Regions from separate parts of the Homo sapiens genome. Here region 1 is linked to region 2. Evidence: promoter capture Hi-C in human tissues and cell types (Jung and others, 2019). All regions are on one chromosome and are shown on one strand. The core of a region is centred on a gene start or on the middle of the fragment in contact, and the rest is flanking DNA. Distances in the headings are between cores, read along the strand shown. Region 1 has its middle 27 kb from the start of CCDC182. Region 2 holds the start of OR4D2 (olfactory receptor family 4 subfamily D member 2).

The links. The method cuts DNA at HindIII sites, captures the fragments that hold promoters and counts their contacts. A contact is called where the count stands out against the background at its distance.
Region 1: a fragment that was not itself captured here is called in contact with the fragment with the promoter of OR4D2 in region 2 in 1 of the 25 tissues and cell types used here (spleen).

The regions. Positions count from the first base shown.
Region 1 is chr17:57,770,918-57,773,617 of GRCh38, reverse strand. No RefSeq gene overlaps it. Among named protein-coding and RNA genes, the nearest start is that of CCDC182, 27 kb to the right of the region's middle. The HindIII fragment of the contact is 9,168 bases long and covers 1-2,700 here.
Region 2 is chr17:58,165,669-58,168,508 of GRCh38, reverse strand. It overlaps OR4D2 (olfactory receptor family 4 subfamily D member 2), which reads right to left and starts at 1,527. Exons shown (of 2, transcript NM_001004707.4): 1 at 1,456-1,527. The HindIII fragment of the contact is 7,868 bases long and covers 1-2,840 here.

The sequences.
Region 1 (2,700 bases), core at 125-2,624, 390 kb after region 2:
CCCTTTTAAAAACAGAGTTTATTTTTCATTCTCTCTATAAGTCATGCCAGTTTAATATAAAAAATGGAAAATATAAAGTAACCAGGTAAATGAATGAGTTGGGCTGGCTTGGTGGGGTGCAGACAGAAAGCAACTCTACTCTTCCCCCGACTTGCCCTGCACACTGGCTCTGTGGATTCATTTTTTCTTTCTCTTGCTTTTTGGATACTCCCAGGTATTAATTAAGAGTCTTGCTCCTTCAGGTAATAAAATGTCAAGTCCCAGTCTCATATCAAACTCTCATGCAGTTTATAACTTCTCCCCTTGCTGAGCTTGGCCCGTGGGCACAGGCATGTATGCAGTTGCCTCTTCTCTGTTTTCTTCCTCGCGCCCCCTCTCAGTAGTCGGCTTCTGCCACCTGGGCCAGTGTGGGAGGAAGATGGGGGAGAGGCTTAGGGGGCAAGCAAAGTCTTGGTTGACTGGAACAGTTGTAACCTGGTATCCTGAGGGTGTGTTTCTCCTGTGTGTGCTCTTTAGGGTTCTTTGGAGACACCATCTCCCCACTGGCTGAGGATTTTCTTGGACGGTGCTTCCTCCAGCTGACTCCATAAGAGCGCTAATTTACAGCAGTCAGCTCCTCTGTTGTGGTCGCCTCACTTCTCCAGCAGGGAGCACTCACTTCTAGGGGATCCATATCTGACCTATAAGCAGGCATTTTTCTCAGGGGAAGTCCACGTCTGGTCCACGGGAAGCGCACCTGTATCCTCGCACCACCAAACCTAACAAGTGCAGTGCTTCCTGCCCCTGCCCTGCCTCTTGGCTGCCCATCCATGCAGGCCATCCCAGCTGGCCCTCTGTCTTTGATTTTGGAGCATGAGTCAGGTTGCATCCCTGCATCCTTCAAATTCTAGGGGCATAGAGCAAATCCTTTGAGTGGTTCTAAGTGCCCCTGCCTTTGTATTCAACAACTAACTCTCTCCCTCTTTAAAGAAATCTTTACTCTCAATCTCTTCATCCTGATTCATGCATTCACAGCCTTCTCTTAAAACAATCAATGATGTTCGAGTGCTGACTGAACTGGAGACCCTGCCATGCTGGCCCAGCATCCTGCTTTACTCTGCACCCATTATTTTCTACTTTCAGTAGAAATAATGTCTTGTCTCAGTAATACTGAGACAAGAATCCCATTTTAACATCTAGCGCAGTAGTTGTAGTAGGTTTTTTATGGCTCCAGATTCATTTCAATCCAGGATTATGACCCTTTGCAATACAGCTTTGCAACTCCTCCCATCCAGAGGAGACATCTGCTTGTCTACTCCTTGCAATTTCATTGGCTTTGAGACCAGCTTTGTCCACATAGAAAGGGGCAGAAAGCAAAGCTAGGCAACTTCTGAGGCTAGGGCTTATGAGTCATTGCTGCTTCCACCTTTGCTCTCCTCTAGGAACATTGCCCTGAGACAGACATCCATGAAGAAGCCTGGGATGAAAGACCACATGGAGAGAAAGGCCCACCATCATTCTGCACCAACTACCAACGGCGTAAGGGAGGTTGACTTGGATCTCCCACCCCAGTTGACTCTCCAGCTGAAAGCAACTGCCTGAGCCCAAACAAAACCTGCTGAGGAACCTCCCTGCTAGCAAATGGAATCAGGAGAAATAATAAATAGTTCTGTTGTTTTAAGTCACCAACTCACAAACGGAGTATAAGAAATAATCAATGGATGTAGTTTTAAGTCTCTATGTGTTGGGATGGTTTGATATAACAATAGGTAACTGAAACAGTAGAAGATTAGAAAGAGGAAAAATAATCACCCATAATCCCATCACATAAAGATGACTGCTCTTTTTTTTTTTTTTTTTTTTTGAGATGAAGTCCACTCTGCCACCCAGGCTGGAGTGCAGTGGCACAATCTTGGCTCACTGCAACCTCTGCTTCCTGGGTTCAAGTGATTCTCCTGCCTCAGCCTGCAGAGTAGCTGGGACTAAGGCGTGTGCGACCATGCCCGGCTAATTTTTTTTTTTTTGTGTGTGTGTTTTTATTAGAGACGGGTTTTCACTATGTTGGCCAGGCTGGTCTCAAACTCCTGACTTCAGGCGATCCACCTGCCTCAGCCTCCCAAAGTGCTGAGATTACAGGCGTGAACCACCATGCCTGGCCAAAGATGACTGTTCTTAACATCCGTAAGTTTTTCCTTTCGCTCTCTTTTTTTTCTACACATATTTTTCAACATTTTATTCTGAAAATTTTCAAACACATAAAGTGAACATTCCATACCCACTACTTAGATTCTACAATTATCTTATTTTTAGTGCATTTCAAAGCAATGAACATCAGTACCCTTCACCTATAAATACTTTAGCATTCTGGATATGTTTTAAGTAGTTGTAATAATAAAATGCCTAATATGTACTTTTATATCCTGCTTCATTCAATTATTTTGATATTATTAACACGCTTGAATGTTAAACTCTTTGTGAAATTTACTTTTAATGACTGATAATGTACAATGAAGCAGGTATACTGTCTTTTTTTTTTCTATTTCTGATTGTTAGATAGCTATGATTTTTCTACCTTCGTATCTGTTAATATAAGTTATACTTCAAATACCCTCATTTCCAGGTACAGAAAAAAGGCCAGTGGGTTTACATGACTCATCTGATTTGCTCTGGGATAAAAGGCAGTGTGTTAAATCTTGTTAAGTAGAATATTTTCTCTTGCAG
Region 2 (2,840 bases), core at 278-2,777:
GAGCCGGGAGAGGTGGCTCACGCCTGTAGTCCCAGAAATTTGGGAGGCGGAGGCGGATGGATCACTTGAAGTCAGAAGTTTGAGACCAGCCTGGCCAACATGGTGAAACTCCGGATCTGTACTAAAAATACAAAAAAATTAGCCGGGCGTGGTGGCACACACCTGTAATCTCAGCTACTTGGGAGGCTGAGGCAGGAGAATCGCTTGAAGCTGGTTGGAGGCTGCAGTGAGTGGAGGTCATGCCACTGCACTCCAGCCTGGGTGACAGAGCGAGACTCTGTCTCAAAAAATCAAAAACAAAAAAAAAAGAAGAAGAAGATGGAGGGTGACAGGGGAGGGGGTCAGTGGTCTCCCCCCTCCCCCTGCCCTGTCTCAATCTCTCTTACCCTCTCTTACCTGGCCTATTGCAATCTATTATCTACAATATTATAGGTCATTCTAATCTTATTCTGCTCCTTCAGTTTACTTCCACTCCAGGACACCTTCTTTTTTTTTTTTTTTTTTTTTTTGTGACGGAGTCTCGCTGTCGCCCAGGCTGGAGTGGCGCGATCTCGGCTCACTCACTGCAAGCTCCGCCTCCCGGGTTCACGCCATTCTTTTACCTCAGCCTCCCGCGTAGCTGGAACTACAGGCGCCCACCACCTCGCCCGGCTAATTTTTTTTGTAACACGGTTTCACTGTGTTAGCAGGATGGTCTCGATCTCCTGACCTCGTGATCCGCCCGCTTCCGCCTCCCAAAGTGCTGGGATTACAGGCATGAGCCACCGCGCCTGGCCTCACTCCAGGACACCTTCTACACAGCTGTCCATGAGACCCCTCTGACTCAGATGTGATCATATTCCTCATTGTTATAATATTTGATTTGCTCACAGCTTAAAACTCAAACTCTCAGAAGCCACCTAAAATGCTCTGTGGATAAACTGAGGGTGGAAAAACATACCTACATACGTGCATGCAACTCTCTCTCAGCATTTCATACAAGACTATAAAAAATAGCCTCCCTATACCTTTCTAATCAGTATCACTGTCACCTGGGAACTGATTGCTGTTCAAAGAACTCATAGCTTCCATGTAGGCAGTATATTTCATTATTTTCATATCTTTGGTAATAAATCCTGTTTCCTGAAATGCCTTTTGCTACCTTCTCAACCTAGAGGCGATAAGAGAAATATCACTTTCCCTTTGACTCCTCCCCCCATTTCTCTCATGCAGAATTAATTCCTTATTTCTCTGTGTTCCAATAGCATTTGATAAATACCTCCATTATAGCATTTATCATTTTTTCTATTGCTTCTCTTAACTAGATTGTAAATTCAATAACTTAGTAAGCCCAGAGTCTATGACAGCATCTCTGATTTAGCACTTGCTCAGAAATGTTTGCCAACTTAATATATTAGCAGGTAAATGTGACTTTGTTTTATGTGACAATGTCGAGAATCTTGTGATTTTCCTCACCGTTGATGTCCTTTGCTGTGAGCATCCTCCCTCTAAGTCTCATAGGGCGAATTCTGTGCTTTGTTGTTTTCCTATGTAATCGGAGGCATCCGTTTTCAACATCACATTCCCCTTGCAGTTTTTCTTGAGTCTCTGCTCATCCTTTAGACTTACTATCGTCAGGTCTATGTCACTTGCTTATTACTCCCACCCTCTAGCAGGTGTTGCAAGATCTTTCTTACAGCTGATCTCTGTGCAGCTGAGGAAACACTGGTCTCTCACCTCCCTTTAGCCCAGAATGGGGCTTCAGTGTACATCTTCTTGGAGATCCTTTGCTTCAGCCTCACAGTTTCTTAGCTCCTGCCCTTACTTCATGAATAATACCATGGGTGAGACCCCAGGGGAAGGGGGAATATCCTTTGGGAGAAACTATTGGACAGGGCTCAGGAAGCTGAGCTGGGCTGATTATCACTGGGGCCAAGGGAGCAATGGGAGTTGTTAAAAAGTTTCTAAATGTCTCAAAAGCACACACTCTTTGAGAGGTCTTCCTTGGGGGGCCCAAAGTACCAAGCACATTGAAAATTTTAGAGATTTGAGGAATGGGTAATATTCAGGCCAAGATCCAAAAGGACAAGAGGGTCTTCAAAAAAAAGGAGACTCTGAGAGTTTTAGGAGAATTTCTTTCTTAGACCAGTGACACCTACCCTTGAGAGAATTACCTGAAGGCCTTGTTAAAAGGCAGACTTCTGTTCCCAGCCCAGAATTTCTCATTCAGTACATCAATGGTAAGACCAAGAATTTGCATTTGTAGCAAGTTCTCAGATAATGCTGATGCACCTGTTCCAGGGACCAGACATTGAGAACCAACGACTTGCTCTTCAGCACAATGGATAGTTCTCTTTCATGGTGTTGTCAAGGTAACTGGTTTGATTTCTTCTCCTTTTAAACTGAATTGATCTTTACATAGGCAACGTCATGGATGGGAAAATGTCTGCATACTAAAATGAAAACTTAATTACCCCATAAATCTTGTTCTTCATCTTGTCAACCAATACCCCCACAGTTGATTCACTACCCATATCAATTATACTCACACCATCTACAAAGTGCTAGCATTATTTACATGTCAATTATTACTCCCTTTAATACAAGGATTGGCACAAGAAGCCCATATATTTTCTAATTATGAGGAACTGATTAAAAATTGGAATTAACCAACACTGTAAGCTTGATGTGCTGTAAAATCTGTGTGATTTCTCACAGCTCTCTGATCCACGTGAGGTTCTCAGGTTGGTCTGAGTTCTTTCATTGCGAATGTTTATACTTGGCAAAATAAAGACTCTGCCTCTGGGGATAAGAACACGAAGTGACGTTCTTTCACATACAAGAGATGTCAATTTAAAAAA